Regions from separate parts of the Homo sapiens genome. Here all the other regions are linked to region 7. The links are contacts of gene promoters, found by promoter capture Hi-C in blood cells and fetal thymus (Javierre and others, 2016). All regions are on one chromosome and are shown on one strand. The core of a region is centred on a gene start or on the middle of the fragment in contact, and the rest is flanking DNA. Distances in the headings are between cores, read along the strand shown.

Evidence for each region. Contacts are between HindIII fragments. The CHiCAGO score rates a contact against its expected background, and 5 or more counts as called.
Region 1: a fragment that was not itself captured here is called in contact with the fragment with the promoter of TTC29-AS1 in region 7 in 1 of 17 cell types (endothelial precursors); the score reaches 5.4 in endothelial precursors.
Region 2: a fragment that was not itself captured here is called in contact with the fragment with the promoter of TTC29-AS1 in region 7 in 1 of 17 cell types (endothelial precursors); the score reaches 6.2 in endothelial precursors.
Region 3: a contact is called between a fragment that was not itself captured here and the fragment with the promoter of TTC29-AS1 in region 7, in 1 of 17 cell types (endothelial precursors). The highest score is 5.0, in endothelial precursors.
Region 4: a contact is called between a fragment that was not itself captured here and the fragment with the promoter of TTC29-AS1 in region 7, in 1 of 17 cell types (endothelial precursors). The highest score is 5.5, in endothelial precursors.
Region 5: a contact is called between a fragment that was not itself captured here and the fragment with the promoter of TTC29-AS1 in region 7, in 2 of 17 cell types (endothelial precursors and megakaryocytes). The highest score is 6.2, in endothelial precursors.
Region 6: a contact is called between a fragment that was not itself captured here and the fragment with the promoter of TTC29-AS1 in region 7, in 1 of 17 cell types (endothelial precursors). The highest score is 5.9, in endothelial precursors.

What each region holds. Positions count from the first base shown.
Region 1 is chr4:146,149,871-146,152,792 of GRCh38, reverse strand. No RefSeq gene overlaps it. Among named protein-coding and RNA genes, the nearest start is that of LSM6, 24 kb to the left of the region's middle. The HindIII fragment of the contact is 3,839 bases long and covers 1-2,922 here.
Region 2 is chr4:146,171,830-146,174,762 of GRCh38, reverse strand. No RefSeq gene overlaps it. Among named protein-coding and RNA genes, the nearest start is that of LSM6, 2.4 kb to the left of the region's middle. The HindIII fragment of the contact is 1,377 bases long and covers 665-2,041 here.
Region 3 is chr4:146,089,025-146,091,745 of GRCh38, reverse strand. No RefSeq gene overlaps it. Among named protein-coding and RNA genes, the nearest start is that of LINC01095, 32 kb to the left of the region's middle. The HindIII fragment of the contact is 4,912 bases long and covers 1-2,721 here.
Region 4 is chr4:146,133,004-146,135,927 of GRCh38, reverse strand. No RefSeq gene overlaps it. Among named protein-coding and RNA genes, the nearest start is that of LINC01095, 13 kb to the right of the region's middle. The HindIII fragment of the contact is 2,232 bases long and covers 513-2,744 here.
Region 5 is chr4:146,106,636-146,109,335 of GRCh38, reverse strand. LOC105377469 (a long non-coding RNA gene) reads right to left here. Exons shown (of 3, transcript XR_939294.1): 2 at 1,256-1,451. Among named protein-coding and RNA genes, the nearest start is that of LINC01095, 14 kb to the left of the region's middle. The HindIII fragment of the contact is 1,394 bases long and covers 612-2,005 here.
Region 6 is chr4:145,977,794-145,980,562 of GRCh38, reverse strand. No RefSeq gene overlaps it. Among named protein-coding and RNA genes, the nearest start is that of ZNF827, 40 kb to the right of the region's middle. The HindIII fragment of the contact is 1,010 bases long and covers 867-1,876 here.
Region 7 is chr4:146,932,500-146,935,298 of GRCh38, reverse strand. TTC29-AS1 (TTC29 antisense RNA 1) reads right to left here and starts at 1,295. Exons shown (of 7, transcript NR_188447.1): 1 at 962-1,295. The region is part of intron 4 of TTC29 (tetratricopeptide repeat domain 29); the gene reads left to right. The HindIII fragment of the contact is 4,123 bases long and covers 1-2,148 here.

The DNA of each region.
Region 1 (2,922 bases), core at 303-2,802, 780 kb after region 7:
ATGGTTACTTGAAGGATCATATTTCAAGTTCTAAGAAGCATGTGACCCCAGCACCATAAGCTAGTCAGCCTTTCCTGATGATTTTGACTTAAAAATGTATTCAAATCTTAATGATGACTACTACTCCTCGTGCCTGCCCTCCCACCCTCCATGCTACTTTAACTCGGTGGCTCTCAAATTTTGATGCACACAAGAAAATCAGGGGAGCTTATGATAACTTCAGAACTTCTGATTTGATGAGTTTGGACAGGCACCCAGACATCTGTAATTTTAATAGATGTCTCAGATGATTCTGATGCACATGATACATATTGACCCTAGTGGCCCAGTAGAACCCTAACAATGCCTGCCTTCCATGTGTCAAGGATGACAGGATGCACCTTTGGAAGGATATATAGTTTCCTTTCTCTTTCTTGGTAAGACTTGGATTGCCTTCTGGATTGCCTTCAATACTCAGATCTGGAATATTGAAGTGGGCCAAGTTAGGACCAAGAGAAAAGAACAAGGCAGATTTCTTAGGTTATCTGTTTCATGGGTTCTAAAGGAAAGAGATGGAGGATTTCTTAACATTTTACTGGAGTGGGAGAAGAGACAAGGACTTGGCTAGAAACTTGGCACAATATTTAAGACTGTGCACATGGCTAGGGCATGTTTTATAGTTGTCTCTTGGGTTTAATAAGAGTGTCGATAGGTAGTAGGAGAGATTTCAGGTTCAGTGGAGGTAAGGGAAGAAATAATATCCTTGGGACATAGGTGGCTAAGTGGCAAGGTCACAATATGCTGTAGTGGCTCTTAAACTTTGGCCCACTTAGGCTGAGCACAAGACTTCATGGCCCCCATATCATACCAGTTCTTATCTTTCAGGGTTTTGTTTTTGTTTGCTTTTCACCAATCGCATATATTTATACATGTAGAGCAAGAATTGCACAATATTGTAGGTCATGGTAGGCAGCCTTATTAGTATAATACTGAATCACCTTCCCTAAAATTTTAGTTTATAAATGGCAAGCAAAAGAAAAGTCTCGCTCTCCAGTTTCCAGTCTGACATGTAAGGAGCTTGGAAGTCATTTCTCCCATCTGTACAAGAAAAAAGCTGAACATACTAAAAATCAACAACTGTTTTTAGATCCATCTGAGAATTGAAGTCACAAGGCAAACCGCTGCCCTAAAAGTTGGAGAGATAGGTGGATTCAGAGAAACATGGTTTACTGGAGGAGAAACCTCCACAGGAACCAGTACCAGGGCCAGACAACCTAAACGGTAACTGATGAATTGCTAGAGGCCCCGTGTGGACAGCTTGAGAGTTAAAAATGCCAGGGGGAGCCCAGTCTTAGGGGGCCTCCACACTTTCAAGAGTTTTACCTCCAGGAGCCTTATTAGGTTCTTACAGTGAAGGTTACAAAAAAGTCATTTGTGCTTCCATCAGCAGGAGGGGACATGTACAGATGCTCCTTAACTTATAATGGGATTATGTCTTGATAAACCCATCATAAGTTGAAAATATCGTAAATGCATTTAATATACCTAACCTACCATACATCATAGCTTAGCCTAGCCTACCGTAAACATGCTCAGAACACTTACATTAGGCTAGAGCTGGGAAAAATTATCTAACATAAAGCCTATTTTTTTAAATGTTGAATATCTCATGTAACTTATTGAATACTGCACTGAAAATGAAAAATAGAATGTTTGTATGGATACTTGAAGTATGGTTTCTACTGAATGTGTATACTTTTTGTACCATTGTAAAGTTGAAAAATTGTAAGTCAAACCATTGTAAGTCTGGGAAGTCTAGAGTCATTTTGAAATATACCAGAGCTCTATTCCTCCTAACAAGACCTACCTTCAAGGAAAACCAGTTTACAAGAGCCTAACCAAAGTAGGGTCTACCAGAACCTAACTTACCTGGGGGGAGAAAAATAACCAACTCTAACCCTCTGTAGCCTTCCTGTCTCATCTAAGAGAAAAAAAACTGAAAAGCATGTGTGAAGGCCATGGTTCAGGGGCACAGGCTCACTGAAATACTGCTACCTAATCATAGGCCCATAGAATGATTCGCCTTTCCCCACATCATATCAACACATCAATAAGGCTCCTATACAATAACAGGAGATTACAACTGAAATAACTGCACCTCCCATACTTTATTTTAGAAGTCTCTAGGCCAAGCATGATGGCTCATGCCTGTAATCCCAGCACTTTGGGAGGCCGAGGCGGGTGCATCACTTGAGGTCAGGAGTTCAAGACCAGCCTGACCAATATGGTGAAACCCCATCTCTACTAAAAATACAAAAGTTAGCCAGGCATGGTGGTGCATACCTGTAATCTTAGCTACTCAGGAGGCTGAGACAGGAGAATTGCTTAAACCTGGGAGGTGGTGGTTTCAGTAAGCCGAGATAGCGCCACTGTACTCTAGCCTGGGTGACAGAGTGAGATTCTGTCTCAGAAAAAAAAAAAAAAAAGAAGCCTCTAAAGAAACCCAAAGATAACAGGAGAGACTAAAACAAGGCCACCAGAAAAAAAATTAGTCTCTGATACCTACAGCTACAGCAAACAGTAAACAAAGTCTAACTCTGGCCACGTAAACATAAAACCTTGCACTAAAAGTTTATTCTCTTCATTCTCTTTCACTCACTACATCACATGCTACTTTCAACAAAAAAAAATTACAAGGCATACTAAAAGACAAAAAACAGTTTGAAGAGATAAAGCAGAATCAGAACCATACTTAGATACAGCAGAGATTGTAAAATCATCAGACCAGGCATTTAAACCAATTATGATTAACATGTTAAGGGCTATAACAGAAAAAGTGGACAACATGCAAGAACAAACAGAAAGATAGTAATGTGAGTAGAGAGATAGAAATTATAAGGAAGAATTAAAACGAAATGCTGCAAATCAAAATCACCATAATGG
Region 2 (2,933 bases), core at 104-2,603, 760 kb after region 7:
TTGGATAAAGACCGAACAGTTACTGATTTATTGTGAGGGCTGTATTTGAAGTTCTTGCAATATAAAATACAATGTAAATAAAAATTTTAAGAAAAGTACCATTTAAATCAAATAATTACGTGCAAAGAACAAACATAATAGGATAAAAAGCCCTGTTCCTAAAAACTTTCTTTGCAAACGACATCAAATTGCACATTCCTTACTGATTGTTTAAATTATTAAAAAAAAAAAGAAAATTTTTGATTCAAACTTCTTTCCCTTTCCTACAGAGCCCTAATCGAGCCGTTAACACTAGTGTGGTGGGTAGGGAGCCATGAGGAGTTTTAAGGGCCTAGTTCATCTGCTGAGCAGCTGCAACCTTCTCTAAGGGGAGTAGCTGGGTAAGGGCCCAGTTTGACACACGGGGTGGGCATCCTGAATTAATTCATGAGCTAACAAGCTTATAAAAAGTGTGGCTGTTCCCAAAAGCCCCTCAGCAGCTTATAAATGACTTTTACTAACTCACAAGGCAATTTTCCGTATTTCCCAGGTTTTTGCTTTCAGCATCTTTTATGATGCAAAGAAAACACTGCAAGACTTTTGGTGAATACTAGTCTTCAAAACCCTGAATGTAAACATTAATTTATTAAGGAGCCTTAAAGTCATAAAAATATTTTGGCAAGCTTTAGTTTAACTTATGTAGTTTAGTTTCATTTAGTTGTTAGGACTGATGAACCTACACTGACACATCATTATCATCCAAAGGCCAAAGTTTACATTAGGGTTCACTCTTGGTGTTGCACATTCTATAGGTTTTGACAAATGCATAATGAAATGTACCCACAATTACAGTATCATACAGAATAGTTTCACTGCCCTAAAAATTCTCTGTGCTCCACCTATTTATCCCTTCCTCCCCACTGGCAACCGCTGATCTTTTTTCTGTCTCCAAAGTTTTGCCTTTTTCCACAATATCATATATTTGGAATCATACCGTACACAGTTAGTGGTGCATACACTGCACCACCCCACTGTGTAGCCTGTTCAGACTGGCTTCTTTCACTTAGAAATATGCATTTAAGACCCCTCTGCGCCTTTTCATGGCTTGACAACTCATTTCTTTTAAGTTCTGAATAATATTCCATTATTTGGATGTACCACAGTTTATTTATCCATTTACCTACAGAAGGACATCTTGGTTGCTTCCAAGTTTGGGAAGTTATGAATAAAGCTGCTATGAATATGTGTATGCAGGTTTTTGTATAGAAATAAGTTTTCAGCTTATTTGGGCAAATATCAAGGAGTATGACTGCTAGATCATATAGCAAGGGTATGTTTAGTTTTGTAAGAAACTGCCAAACTGTCTTACAATGTGGCTGTACCATTTTGCATTCCCACTAGGAGTGAATGAGAGTTTCCATTGTTCCACATCCTCATGGGCATTTGGTGCTTCCAGTCCTTTGGATTTTGACTAGTCTAATAGCTGCTTAGTGACTATCTCATAGTTGTTTAAAGTTGTAATTCCCTAGTGACATATGATATGGAGGATCTTTCTATATACTTATTTGCCATATGTATATCTTTGGTTGTTCAGGTCTTTGGCCCAATTTTGAATCAGTTTGTTCTTTCTTTTTGTTGAGTTTTAAGAGTCCTTTGTATATTTTGAATAATAGTTCTTTATCAGATATGTGTTTTACAAATATTTTCTCCCAGTTTATGGCTTGTCTTTTCATTCTCTTGAAGCTATTATGCTTAAAATAGACAAATGCAGATATATAAATGCTAAGAGAACTCTTGCCACTTCATTGTTTGTCCCTTCTACAGTTCTATAGTACATATGCCTTTAAATAACTATGTCCTTCAATGTTTCATATTCATAAAAGATGGTCTCATGTCTAGCTTATTAAACACCCAACAGCCCTGTGAACATGTAGATGAATGTATTGTGATGTTGTTGTGGTTGTTGTTGATGATGATGATGATGATGATAAATACAAACATGTAATTGGATTGACCAACACTCTCCAAAGCAGATTTTAATATGTAACATGGATGTTAAGCTTCCAAGAATACTGGCTGGTCTTGTTGGAGCAATGCATTAACTGGTATGAAGTGCTGGCATGGACCTGAACCTTTCCTGGACCTTCAGACTGTACAATAGGAGCTCATAAGCTGTGATGTGCTAGTTTTGGATACTTGGGGCCACCATTATCTGCCTTTAATCATGGGATATGAAAATTATTTGTTATAGAAAATGAAGAGAGGCCGGGGGCAGTGGCTCACACCTGTAATCCCAGCACTTTAGGAGGCCAAGGTTGGCGGATCACTTGAAGTCAGGAGTTCAAGACCAGCCTGGCCAAGATGTTGAATCCCGTCTCTACTTAAAATTAAAAAATTAGCTGGGTGTAGTGGCACATGCCTGTAATCCCAGCTACCTGGGAGGCTAGGCATGAGAATCTCTTGAACCCGACAGGCTAAGGTTGCAGTGAGATGAGATCATGCCACTGCACTCCAGTCTGGATGATAGAGCGAGACTGTTTCTTAAATGAAGAAAGAAAGAGAGAAAGAAAGAAAGAAGAAGGAAAAAAGAAAGAAAGAAAGAAAGAAAGAAAGAAAGAAGGAAGAAAGAAAGAAAGAAGAAAGAAAGAAAGAAAGAAAGAAAGAAAGAAAGAAAGAAAGAAAGAAAGAAAGAAAGAAAGAAAAAGAAAGAAGGAAAAGAAAGAGGGAGGGAGGGGAAAAAAGAAAATAAGGAAACAGACAGACACTCTCTGGTTGTTGAATACCTTCTAAGAAGTGATACAAGCTCATTGACTGGTGGGCAAATTTCTCAGAAAAAGTAGTATGTCGTTTTGCTTACCCAAGGAAGTGATATATTCTACATCATGGGCGCTTGGTTTCAGATGTAACATGTGAGATGTTTAAATAATGTTCGGACTTCATCAGCCATCATTTTG
Region 3 (2,721 bases), core at 171-2,670, 840 kb after region 7:
TCCTTTCAGGGCCATTGCATGCATACATAGTTGTCCATGTAAATCGTGCTTTCTGGAGTTGTGCAGTGCACAACCTGCATAGCAGTCCTTGGTTATTTAGACTCTTTTCTGCCTGCTCTCTACATATCTTTCTCCTCTCCTCCTTAGTTATAAGAAGCTCTGAGCTTCAGTCTAGAGACAGCATAAAATTGAAAGCAACCAATTTGATCAGCTTGATTTTCAGTTAGCATTTTGTCCCCAAAGTAGCGGAGACTTTTTTATTTTTTATTTTTATTTTATCATTATTATTTTATTTATTTATTTATTTACTTTTTGAGACAGAGTTTCTCTCTTGTTGCCCAGGCTGGAGTGCAATGGAGCAATTTTGACTCACCGCAACCTCTGCCTCCCTAGAGGCAGATTCCCCTGCCTCAGCCTCCTGAGTAGCTGGGATTACAGGCATGCGCTACCATACCTGGCTAATTTTATATTTTTAGTAGAGACGGGGTTTCTCCAATGTTGGTCAGGCTGGTCTTGAGCTCCCGACCTCAGGTGATCCGCCTTCCTTGGCCTCCCAAAGTGCTGGGATTACCAGTGTGAACCATCAGGCTCAGCCTTTTATTTTTATTTTTTACCTTTATTGCTGCTAATGTTGTGACTTTTGAACCTTTCTTTAACAAATTCTCTAGCATGAAAAAAAGAACAAAAAGGGGTAGATACTTGAATTGATGATCTTTTCTGCTAATAGTTCAAGTGGCAGTTTAAAAAAATGAGAACAATTGATTCAGATGAAGTTTCTGGATTTTCCTGAGCTTTCTGATGTCTCCACAGCAAGGATAATTTAAAACTGACCACACAAAACTGTCCTCATTATATTGTTATGAAAGACTACATAAAAATAAATACAGCCAGGTGCAGTAGTACATACCTGTAATAAGCTACTCAGGAAGCTGAAGCAGCATTGACTGAGTTCAGGAGTTTGAGATCAGCCTGGGCAACATAGCAAGACTCCAGCTCAAAAAAAGAAAGAAAGAAAAAGAAAAAGAACACATACACCATGAGAATTCAATCAGCAAGTACTGTCTCAACACAAAAACTTTAACTGATTTCTAGTTTTGCTACAATATAGTTCTTTTAAGCCTGTAAGTGAAAAGATGCTTCACACTTACATGACATTAAAGAGACCATTTTCCCAACCTCCAAAAGTTTAGCCTCTGCTCTAAAGCACTTGTGAAGTACTGCTTATGTGTTTGTGCATGCACACACACATTTAAATACCTGAGACAAGGTAGGGGTTAAAAAAAAAAGAAAGAAAGGTCACAATAAGGGAAACAGGAAAATTATTCTGTCTCATTACAACCACTCAGAGCTTTCTTTTAGTTTAGACAAAGACATGGAGTTTAAATCAATGTTACTAAACAGTACTTGATGTAAGAAAGGGAACTAGCATTGTTTTGTATGCTGGGTGCCACATGCTTTACATGAGCGCTGTTGAATTTCACAATATTCCCAAGAGGTAGGTATAGATGAAAATACATAAATAGGAGCAACTTAAGGAGGTTAGGTAACTTGCCCAAGGACCTATATCTAGTGAATAATGGGAACTCAGTTGGGACCTAGATCTCTCTAACTCTCAGGGACATTTTGCCTTTTAAACATTTGTTTGCTTATTTGGTGTTCATTATGAAAACTGCAAACACAAGGAACAGAAATTATATATCAAATTACCATGTACCCACTATCCCTTTAGTAGATGTTATTACTTTGCCATATTTACCTCAGATCCTTTTAACTTGAGAATAAAATATTACAGACAAAATTAAAGTCACCTATCCTGTTACTGCCCTTCCTCCTTCTCTAAATCAGCCACTAGCCTGAATTGAGGTTCATCCTTTCCATCCATATTGTCATATTTTTAACATATGTTTCATTCATATGAGTATATCCATAAGAAACTAAGACCTACTGCTTAGTTACTTTCTCACTTTAATGGTATCATGTTCTGTGTATACTTTCTGTAGTTTGATTTTCATACTCAAATTTTATTTCTAAGATTTATTCATGCTGACAGAGCCACAATATGTGGTTCTTGTTTGCTCTTTTAACTACTGTGTATTACTTTATTGTTTGATGATTTTACAATTTCTTTCTCCATTTCCTAATGGTGGTTATCTAAATTTTTTTCATGTTGCTATTATAAATAATGCAACAGTGAATATTCTTTCTACACATCTCTTTGTGTACGTGCACAAGAATTTCTCTAGGAAATGTTTCTAGAACTTCTGGGTCTTAGTGTATGTGGATTGCTGTGGACCAAATTATGTGTTCCCCTTCATGTCATATATTGAATCCTTAACCCCCAACATGACTGTATTTGGAGATAGAACCTGTAAGGAGGTAATTAAGATAAAATGATTTGGTCATAACAGTGGAACCCTACCAAAGACTAGTGTCTTTATAAGAGAAGACATCAGATACCATGCATGTTCTCTCTCTCTGAGTACACTCAGAAAAAAGGCCATATAAGGACAAAATGGCCACTTCCAAGCCAGAAAGAAGGCCCTCACCAGAAACCAAACCCCACTGGAACCTTGATCTTCAACTTCCAACCTCTAGAAATTAACTATTTAACTATGAAAAAAATATTTTCTGTTGTTTGAGACACCCAGCCTATGGTATTCTGCTATGGCGGCTGGAGCAGGCTAAAATATGCATCTTCACACTTTTTTTAATTGCCAACTT
Region 4 (2,924 bases), core at 379-2,878, 800 kb after region 7:
TTTGTTCAAGACTCCCAAATTCCTTTGGCTGTAGTTGGCTTCATTTTTGCAACTTGCTATCTTATTTTTCCAAAATGAAGTTTTTCTTTTTTGTATTTTTTTCTTATTAAAAAAGCAATCATACCTTTGTTTCAGGAGGAAAAATGGGAAAACATAGTTAAATAAAAATGATATAAAACAAACCATGTTAAAAAAAAAACCACTATTGTTAATAACATTATTGCCCTTGTCTGCCTATTCCTGGCTCCATGGTGCTTACCTGAACTTGCCTTACTATTGAAAAAGTTCATTCTACCTTGAGGGTAGATCTTAGAAGGGTAGGTTTTTTTACGACCTTTTTTCGGGGGCAGGGGGTGGGCATCAGAGCAGAGGTTCACAGCTTCTTTTCATTAATAAATTATTTAAACTCATAGGAGGTTAGCTTTCCCTATCCCACTCCTATAACCTTCCTAGTCCTTCTTTAGCCTCTTAACTGATTTGAGGCCTTTATCCATGAGCTAGAGGGGGAAGCTTCTTGGAAAAGGGCAACTCTGGTATTTTTGCAATAGTGCTTCTTACCTCTCTACAACTATCAGAGCCACTTTTTCCAGGTCCTCACCAGTACACAAAGAGTAATTTGCTGTCTGTCTGCAATGACGCTTCTCTGGCTGCCAAGGCAGTGTGTGGCTCTGGGGAAGAAAGACGGCCTATGCTTCTTGTTGTGTCTTTCTGTGCTTTGCAATGCCCCATTTGTATCTTTTGCTTATACAAAAGAAATTTTCATTTTAAAAGAAGCATCCTGAATCCAGAAAATCCTATAATACTAATTTCTTTTCTAAGAGGAGAAAGAATAGAGTGAAAACAATGCATGGTGATTAAAGATTTCCACGGCGACAGCTCCCTGGAGTGAAACACGAGGCCCTACTTTGGCAGCACCATCCACCAGGAAGGCTCTTCGTGGACATGCTGTGTCACTTGCTTCAGTCCCTATCTGAGCCGGGATTGGACTGGCACATTGCCTTGTTGAAATTGGCTCCGCACCTTGTTTAAGTGGGCATCCTGCCATACTAATTGATGGGTATGAGTGCAGACATGCTAGAGAACCAGGATGCACAGCAGATCTGGGTAGGAGAAGAGTTTCAGCCCAGAAATATCAAAACAGTCAATTGTGCTGAGTTTGTGTGCCAGGGCCTAGAAGAAGATGGTATCAATGCTCTGCTGCAGCTCAGAGCTGGATTTATTTTTAAATGCCCCAAATAGCTGAAAAAACAAGGAAGGTATGGGCCTGAGAAGGAGCAGGAAGGGGCAAGGTTATTGACTTTCAAAAGAAATAGCTAGTGTCTGCCAACTGGGGTACAAGAAGGTTTTTCATCCAAGCTGTTCCATGATTACAGTAACTTTCAAGCTGAGTGCTTTGGGCAGATATGGAAATCGGAGGCACCTCCTGATGGGGCTTCCCAGGTAAGTCACAACAGGGACTGCTGAGGGTGGATGCAGACGGCCGCTCCCAACCTGGGGAACATCCTCCCTGCTTGTCTGTGATGCCTCAGCTACCCCATGAGATCAACGAGCTCATCAAGTGCATCCAGCAGCCCAGCCCCTCCCTGAGAAGCACAGCCATCAACCCGTGTCCTTCCGTCAGTTCCATTTTTTGGAACACAATTGTCCCTCCATTGAAAGAACAGCTGGCTAACAATCCAAGTTGGTGCAGAAGAGAGAAATTTTTCAATATTAAAATGAGGAAGATGTCAAAGAGAGTTCTGAATGCATGTTAACACAGACTACCCCGTGTTTCCCTCTATGGCTGGCAGTCACCTTCTTCAAACCACCTAATGATAAACAGCCCAGGAAAAAATGACATTGGACTCCAACACCTAATAACAGAGATAATAATAGGGTCATCAAGAGACAGAACGAGGTAAATGACAACCACACTGATGCTGGTGGAGATGAAATCTGTACCTCAATATGGCCATATGTTACAGCATAACATACAAGGCTGAAATACAAAAAACTTTGGCTGGACTTCAAGAAAGTGCCTGTTTGAAGACTTGAAAAACTCACTCTTTGAATTGTCCCATCATTATTTGAATCAATTGACAACATGGGGGAATATGGACTGGTCTGTTTAGCCTCCCTGAGCTTTTGAATCAGATCCATTTTATTAACAATTGAATTCTGCACAGAGTAGGATTAGAAGCCATTGCTCTGACCCCAATTTTATATAATTTCTCCCTTCCTGATGGTAAGAGTGCTTCATAGTTTTCTAGTATTTAAGTCATGAAGTCAAGATGAAGAACTATATACACAGTGGCCAAAGTAAATGTGATCATGTTTAACTCACGTTTAGTTTCTCCTTACTTACAATTTTTTTGGTGTGTGTGTGTGTGTGTGTGTGTGTGTGTGTGTGTGTGTGTGTGTGTGTTTGTGTGGCATTTAAAAAAAGTCAACCTAAAAGGAATAGAATCAAGGAGGGATAGTGGAAGCCAAACAAAATCCTCTCAGTTTTAGCTAAATTTAAAAGATTGGAAGTAAGTCTATTTTGCTTTTACCATAAGGCCCCGATTATTCACTTGAAACCAATGGAAAGCATTGAATTCAAGAACAAAAGCCACAAGAAAATCTTTGTGTAATACTTGGAGATGGTACTGAAAGAACAGGAGGAAGTACGTTGATTGGATTACACTCAGTGAAAGGTAAGCAAAATCATTTGGGTTTAATGGTTCTACTTCTAATATCTCATAATTTGGGATGCATTCTAAGCTTCTTACATAGAAACGTGTGTCCATAATTCCCAGTTGTGCTCATTAGAATGACTCATGCCTATGGACATTTTCTTATCTTGGATTCGAATCACATAAATTTTGATGAGTCCATCAGCTTTCTAAACTGACTGTCGTTCTCCACACAAACAGCCCTATTCACAAGGAGCTTCGAGGAGTTCC
Region 5 (2,700 bases), core at 59-2,558, 830 kb after region 7:
ATTTTCAAAGAGGAAGGTACAGCAAAGGTAAAAGAAAAAACTCATTTTCTCATGTTGTTTTGGGGTAAAAAATAAAGGCTAACAGTGGGTGAGTGATCTTTTTAATATTTTTAGTTAATTTCCCACACATACTTTAAAAAGTTACTATGGTACTGTTTTCTCCTACTATTAAAAATCTGTTTGAAATGAACTACTGGAAAAGTTAGGACATCATAAATCATCTTAAATAGAATAATTTATTTGATGTTTAATCCCTAATTAAGATGAAAATATCAATTGCAGCTGTTCGTTAGGTATGTTCTTAGTTTGTGTTTGGGCCACAGCAGGGGAAGAAAACCCAGAATTTCATAATTTTAAAGAGATTTCTAAATGCTCTGTGTTACACAAAACTTGCAAGTATGGCATTGTGGGAGACAACAGCAGTGTCATAGCTGACATTTGGGTTCTGGATTCAGACTGCCTGGGTTTAAAGCCCTTCAGTCCCCATCTTGATACAATGTTAAAAACATTCAAAGTTTTTAGCACAATGCCTAGCACTTTAGATGCCCAGTGAAATGCTGATATTATTTTTCCTTGTCCATTGAGATCTGTTTTGAAGTATAGGCAAAGCTTGGGACTGAGAATAAAGAATCAGCATCAAAGTCTTATAGTTCATCGTTTTAAAACTGTTTTCTCCAATTTATCCAAAAATAAAATTGAGGGAGTAAGATAGCCCGTGGTTAACATATCAAAGCACCAATAGACAGATTAGAGACTAAGAAGGTACATGAGCACTACAGGCTAAGATGTGGCCAGAACGCATGTCAGGTAAGAAGGGATACCCAGAAATCCTATCTTGGAGGCATCAGGTGAGCATGAGCAAAAGGATATCCCAGGCCAAAGGAACCTTGAATTAAGCAAGCTCTTTACAAGTCCTTCCTTGTGAGGAAGGAACGGCCCTGGGCCAGGCTTCCAAGGACTTCCATTTTAGTCCTGGGTCTGCCTTCTGTCACATTTCAGGCAGGCCATTTAAATTCTCTGAGCCTCAGTAACATTTTTTTTCCTGCCTACCTTAGGGTTATTGAGATACTGTGTGGGAAAGGCCATTGAAACAAAGTTTCAGAGCACTATCTATAAAACACCACATTTTATCACTAATAATCCCATCTTCTAATGTAATTACAGACTTCCCAGGATTTAGCAACCAGGGCCTGGAAGGCAGACAAAGGTAACTGGCCCCATGTGATAAAAACAGGTACAAACTTTCTTTTCTTACCTCACAAGCCTAGCTTAGTGCTGGACACTCAGCAAATGCTAACAAAGTGCCACGCATTGGTTTGAAAGGGTTCACTTCAACCTTGCCTTCTTCAGGAAGCACTTACAGAGAGCACTTTTCAGTGGGTAACAATGTGACGTCAAATGCTCAGTTTAAAACCTCCTTCCAAATAAAAGGAAATTCATCCTAGAAATGGCTAGAATGACAGAATGAAAACAGAGCAGTATCTACCTGGGCTTTAGTGCCAGGAAGTGACAGTCATTGGCTATGTGTTCAATTACATGGCCGAAGTTAATAGGTAATCAAATATTATGCAATAATAGATTAGTTGCCTTTCCTTGTTGCTAATTATCTAAAATATCTCTATATTGCATATTTAAACATAAAAATTTCCCTAAGGTGAATGATACACTATGCCATTTTTAGTGATTAAATGTGGCATTTTCTGCATCTTAATGAAACCATTATTTTTGTTCAGCTGAGTGATTTTATTAATTAAAAGAATGTCAGGAGAGTGGCAGCATGGTCATAGAGTTCTCAGAGAGTCGTAGCATTATAGAGCCATAAAGGACCTGACCAAACCCAGCCAGGGACTCTCAGTTTACCTGTAATTCTCCACCTGGAAGTCAAAAAGCTGGGTTCTGATATCATCAGTACTATGTGACCCCGGGCAAGTCATTCCAACTTTCTTTGACTGAGTTTATTCTTCAGACAAGGGATCTGTAATGCCATGATACTTTAAATTAAGCTTTTCATGTTGACATATGTTTATATATTGTTACACTAATAATGATGTGTCCCAACAAAGTATGGTTTTCTTTCTCTTTCTGACAACAAACACAGGGACTAGCTGTATTTGAATTCTCTGTTATTGGGAAAAAACATGGCTTTTCTTAATAGGCTGTAAATAACCTGAGGGTGCAGTTTGGGGTTCATAATTTTGTGTCCCCCATGGTGCCTTTAACATACTACTAGAAAGAAATAGAATTTCATTGTTGCGTGTTTCAATGTATTTCGGACCAAAGCATCCTGCTCTGAAACATCATTAAGGGAAAAAAATCCTAGCATATTGTGGGCCTCCAATGAAATGAATGTTAATTGTGTTGCCCAATACCAATTTATTAACGTTTATGAGCATACAACTGTGCGTGCACAAACACAGTTCATATATAGTTCTTGAAAAAAGCATTTGGGGTTTTCTACCACATGATGCTTTCAGTCAGTACCTCCTACCATTAATTTGTGTTCAGAGCAGTAGTTCCCAAAGCTACCCCTTCAGCAACATGTATGTTGACATGGATGTTGAAATGGATGATGTAAATACAGCCATTCAGAATAATCTGGAATCCTATTTTATGATTTGGAATGCCCAGAATGTCCAAGACATGACATACTTACAATTTCTCAGAAAAGTCACACCTGAAAAAGGTAAACACTCAACATAG
Region 6 (2,769 bases), core at 122-2,621, 950 kb after region 7:
GCACTGAGAATTCGAGGAGCATGCTTTAATCTAAGGGATCCCAGAAGGGAACACACAGAGAGGACTGTCAGAAGCACGGAGAACACCCCACAGAAGATCATTCTTAAGGAGAACCACATGTGTCCGGCATCTGTTTGCCATCTCTGTTGTACAGGATTTTCTAAGTTCTAATTTCTAATGGGAGAAAATGGGCCTGTGACTGCACTCAGGGAAGTCACCTGGTAAGTATTTTCATTGTGTCTCCACCTGTGTTCATCTGCTTGTTGTGCTTCCTAATTTCCAAAATCCTCTAAAAATGTGTAATGAGATAATATAATTAATATGCCCCCAAAGAGCCAAAACCTCATCAAAATAACAAAAAAAAAACTTTAAAAAGTAGCCCAGAACTCATCAAAATAAACATTTATGCAGTATTGGTAGAATTGTGCAAATCCTTTTGCTCATTTCTATTTGAGCCAAAGTCTGATGTTTACTTATGTAACAAAAAGGCTTATTAAATTGTACTAGACATATGTTTGCTGCTCTACTGGATTGAGATAATCTCACACACACACACACAAACACACACACTATTCAATCGCTTAAATTAAAAAATATGTTTATTATATATATAATATGTATATGATTATGTCAATCCATTAGGGCAGCAAACATATCGGTCTATCTATCATCTATCTATCTCTCTCTCTATCTATGATATACATTATGTATATCAATACTATCTATTTATGTATCTGTCTATTGATAATGCTCCTTCATTTGCTTGCTCACTGTACAAAGGCCTGCAGACCTAGAACAGAAATGGAATCACCCATACCAAAGTGAAGGAGAAGCTCACATTCTGCTTCACAACCCACCTAAAAGCTTAATCAGGCAAAATATTAATACATAGCTCAGGCCAATCATCTAGGATCACCACCTTTGCAAAGAAGATAAAAGAAACTTTAAAAGCACTTTCCCCTGCTGGAACTTTCCTCTAAAATATGTATGACCTGGGATCATATGAAAATGGTTGTTCCAGATATCTTTGGAGATCAAAAATATTCCAAGGAAAGAGTGAATCACTTCTGGATCCCTAACTAGTGCCTTCCAGTGTGTGTCTATACTTTTCTTGGTAGAATTTAGGTTGGTGCCACAGTTCCTGCTGAGAGTCAGAGTTGAGCCACATGCAAGCAGAGATCTCGGGACACTGTGATAAGTGCTATTTTGGGATTATGAATGGAGCCTTCACAAGGGGGAAGTCATGAAAGGCTTCGGGGGAGATGAGTATTGAAAACTCCAACTCAAATCCTTCCAGGAAAAGGGAACGTGTGAAGTTGCCAGATGTTGGGGGCTTCCTGGTGAGCAGCAGAGGGAAGACCACACCTAAAGGATGCCCTTTGCACATTTCTGAAACCTCTGTGTTGGTCATACAAAATATTCTGGAGGCTAGATTCAGTTTGTTGGCCTTCCAATTTGCATCTCCTGCTTTTAAGGTAACATAGGTGTTTTACACAGAAGGGACAACATAGGTGAAAACACAAAGTTAAGGGAGGGCAGGTATGTCTGAGGAAGGTTGAAAAGTTTGCATAGCTGATTGTTTTACAGGACAGACAGAAGATAAGATGACTACAGTTTGGTTGGGATTAAGGAAGGCTTTGAAGCTACTAATGCCAGACTTTATCCTGAATGCCATGGAGAGCCAAACGATATCTCTAAGCAAGATAATAATGTGAAAAGATTCACTTTTAGTAAGTTCATTGCTAGCACACAGGCTGGATGGAGAAAGGCCGGTTAGTGACATCAGGGACAAAGACAGAGGCCACCGCAGTGGTAGTGGGAGTGATGAAGACGTGTTAACACTGAGAGGTATTTCTGAGGCAGAGTAGATAAAGCTTAGATGTGGGAGTAATAGAGAAAGAGACATTAAGAATGATCCCTTGGTTTTCTTGATTTTCATGGTTATCTTTGGTAAGTGATTAGATATAAGTAACATTTATCAAAATTGAGAGTCAGAAAAAGAGCAATTTGGAAGGGTGGCCATTTCTGTTTGAGATATACTAAATTTTAGATACCTGGGGTTTAACCAGGTGGCAACATTTTTTCTTTCTTTTCCTTTAAAGAAAAAACTCTGAAACATCCTCAAACATTTAGAAAGGCTGTAAGTGAGATACAAGGTGGGAAAGAAAACTTTTTGCCCCCTGACCCCTACTTACTATGTCTAAATAAGTTACTGATCTGATGCCCAATCACCACTCCCTAATTCTTTTTTTTTCTTCTTTTTTTTTTTTTTTTTTTTTTTTTTTGAGACAGTGTCTCGCTCTGTCGCCCAGGCTGGAGTGCAGTGGCACGATCAGCTCACTGCAACCTCCACCTCCCGGATTCAAGCAATTCTCCTGCCTCAGCCTTCTGAGTAGCTGGGACTACAGGTGAGTGCCACCACACCCAGCTAGTTTTTTGCATTTTTAGTAGAGACTGGGTTTCACCATGTTAGACAGGATGGTCTCGATCTCCTGACCTCATGATCCACCCACCTTGGCCTCCCAAAGTGCTGGGATTATAGGTGTAGGCCACCCTACCCAGCCCCTAATTCTTTAGTATTTATTTCCTACAAGTGGTAATATTCTCCCACATAATCAGAGCATAGCCATAACATCAGGAAATTAACTAGATACATTGCTACCAACAAATTCCCAAACCTCAGTCAAGTTTTGCCAAATGTCTCACTGATCTTTTGTAGCAAAAATATTCCCATTCAGAATCATGGGCTGAGTTCAGGTATTAAGTCTC
Region 7 (2,799 bases), core at 46-2,545:
ATGCTCTGTCTAGTTTCAAAATAACCTCTCATCATGTACCCCAAAATATGCCAACCTAAACTCACATGCTGTGACTTTCCTCCCAATGCGATGGGTGGAGAGTTCCTACTGTCATCTAAGCATGGTCCCTCTGCTTGTGCTCTGCATCTCATCCCCTTACCTGCTCCCAAGACTTAACCTCCTGCAGTTAAATTTGCTTTTCTCCTACACCATCAATTTCTCCTTTTTCATTGGATCGATCTCACTGGTATTCATTTCTACTCAAACTTTTTTCTTGACATCTTATCCCCTTCCAGGTTCTACCCCATTTTGATCTACCCAAGACAGCAAGAAAAGTGCTGTCTTAATATTTTCACATTTCATTTTTGCCTCAGTTGACTCTAAATAGGTTTCCAGCCCCCATACTTACTGAAATGCCTCTTTAGGGTCACCCATGACCCCTATTTTTATCACATCTAATAGTTATGTTTCTGTTCCCAGCTTCCTAGATGTCTTCACAGCATTTGACCAAGTTGAACGCTCTCATCTTCTTGAACATTTTGTGCTTGTGACTTTCGGGATGCCATATTCTGTGGTTTTTCTCCACACTGGAGCACTTCAGTCTTCTTTGCAGGCTGCTTTCTCTTTCCAAACTCTCAGTGGTGAGGTGCCCAAAGGCTGGGTCCTAGGTGCACTTCAGCCACACTCTCAACCTGGACCCAGTCTTACAGCTTTAAACATTAGCAATAACCCAACGGCTACTCAATTTATAAATCCAGCACTGGCCTCTCCATCAAGCTGAAAGTTTTTAGATCCAATTGCCTCCTTGATGTGTCTACTTGGATATATCACAGACATCCCAAGGTTAATATAACCCAAAACTGGACTCTTGCTTCACCCCTACTCCTCTCTTATCCCCAATATTCGTCCCACAGCCTTTCCTCCATTCAGCAAATAACATCAAGGCAGCCTTGAGTCTTACCTTGCTTACTGCTACCCCCCTCTAATCCATCAGTATGCCCGATCAGCTACAACTCCAAAATGTATCCCGTGTTCATCTCCTGGTCTTCATTGCAGAGCTGCCATCATGTCTGCTAAGATCGCTTAAATGGTCATATAACTGCTCTTCCCACACCCACTCTCACTCCACCACACTCCTGCTAGAGTGGTCTTTTGAAAACATTAGATCATGACATTCCCCTGCTTAAAATCTGCCAATAGCTTCCCATTCTTCACCTGACCTGAAGCTGTGCATGGTCTGGACTTTACTGACCTCTCTGACCTTCTCTCTTTCTCTCCACCACTCTCTACTCCCAATGTGGCCTTATTGCTGACACTTCTTCTTATGCAGGTGTCAACTTGAATGTGACCTCCACAGTGAGCCGTTTCTTGACCTCATAATACAATGTAAATGAGTAAGCAAGCAGGATAAGCTAACATGTAGTTGTCACTGGAATGGCCAAACCCAAGTGATGGGGGTTTATTTTACTTGGGAATGGTAGAATCGTTCAAAGGCAAAAGGCTTCTGGGTTTTGTATCATCTACCTTCACAGAAGAAATTTCAGTATGCTTCGTTACTTTCTAAGTGACTAGATTATTGTTGTGCCTTATAGGTGCATTTAAAAAAATCAAATCCATTGTATTCACATTCCATATTTGATAATGATGATTTGACTTTAAACTTCAAAGTCAAATTTGACTTAGCAGTGAACTTCAAATGGTTCACTGCTACTATCTAACTGATCTTTAACAAGTACAGACAGTCATGTCCGAAGAGTTTCTGTACTTCTGTACTTCGGATTTTTAATTCTGTATAATATTATCAGAATGCATTATTGTTTTCAAAAAGAACTTAAAATATCACTTATTATCATATCATAATTACTTTGAGTAGCTAAGTAATAAAAGAGTCATTTATAGATTCAAATAAACATTTCTAGAGGGCACTTTACAGCTTTAGCTATGTATGTGAGGAAACAAAATCATCTGGGGACAGAGTGTGTTAATCTGCTCAATATTATTTTCTGCTTCAGATATGAAGTTCTATTATGCAGAAGGATATATTTGGTTCAAAATTGTGGGCATCTCTAAGATATTACTTTCTTTCCGAACATCTTATTTTTAGCATCATCAGTGGATGTTTATTGAGCATCACTTTGTCAGCAAGCTTAGTGGCAGTTAGGACTGTTCATTACTATATTCAGTGAGTTTGGGCTGTAAAGAAACAAAGAACAATTTACTTCATATCTTTTTTTTTTTTTTGAGACGGAGTCTCGGTCTGTCACCCAGACTGGAGTGCAGTGGTGCGATCTCAGCTCACTGCAAGCTCTGCTTCCCAGGTTCAAGCCATTCTCCTGCTTCAGCCTCCCAAGTAGCTGGGACTACAGGCGTCCGCCACCACGCCTGGCTAATTTTTTTTGTATTTTTAGTAGAGACGGGGTTTCACCATGTTGGCCAGGATGGTCTCTATCTCCTGACCTTGTGATCCACCCACTTCAGCCTCCCAAAGTGCTTGGACTACAGGCGTGAACCACCGCGCCTGGCCTACTTTCATATCTTTTAAAGCCTTTTTCTCCTGCCTCATTTTGAATTGTATTATACTTACTCAAAGTAAATTAGTGTTTTGCCAGTCCACATTTTGTTTTTTGCAGATTAGGTTTTTATCTTGAATCTCAAAATTTTTGTCCAAAGATGCTTTTATGAACTACAAATATACTTTTTATATGCAAATCTACCTTCTGGATTTGCACAATGCCCTGGCACTCAAACATATGGAGCAAGATGAAGCCATTTATTTAAGATACAATATTTCATAATTCT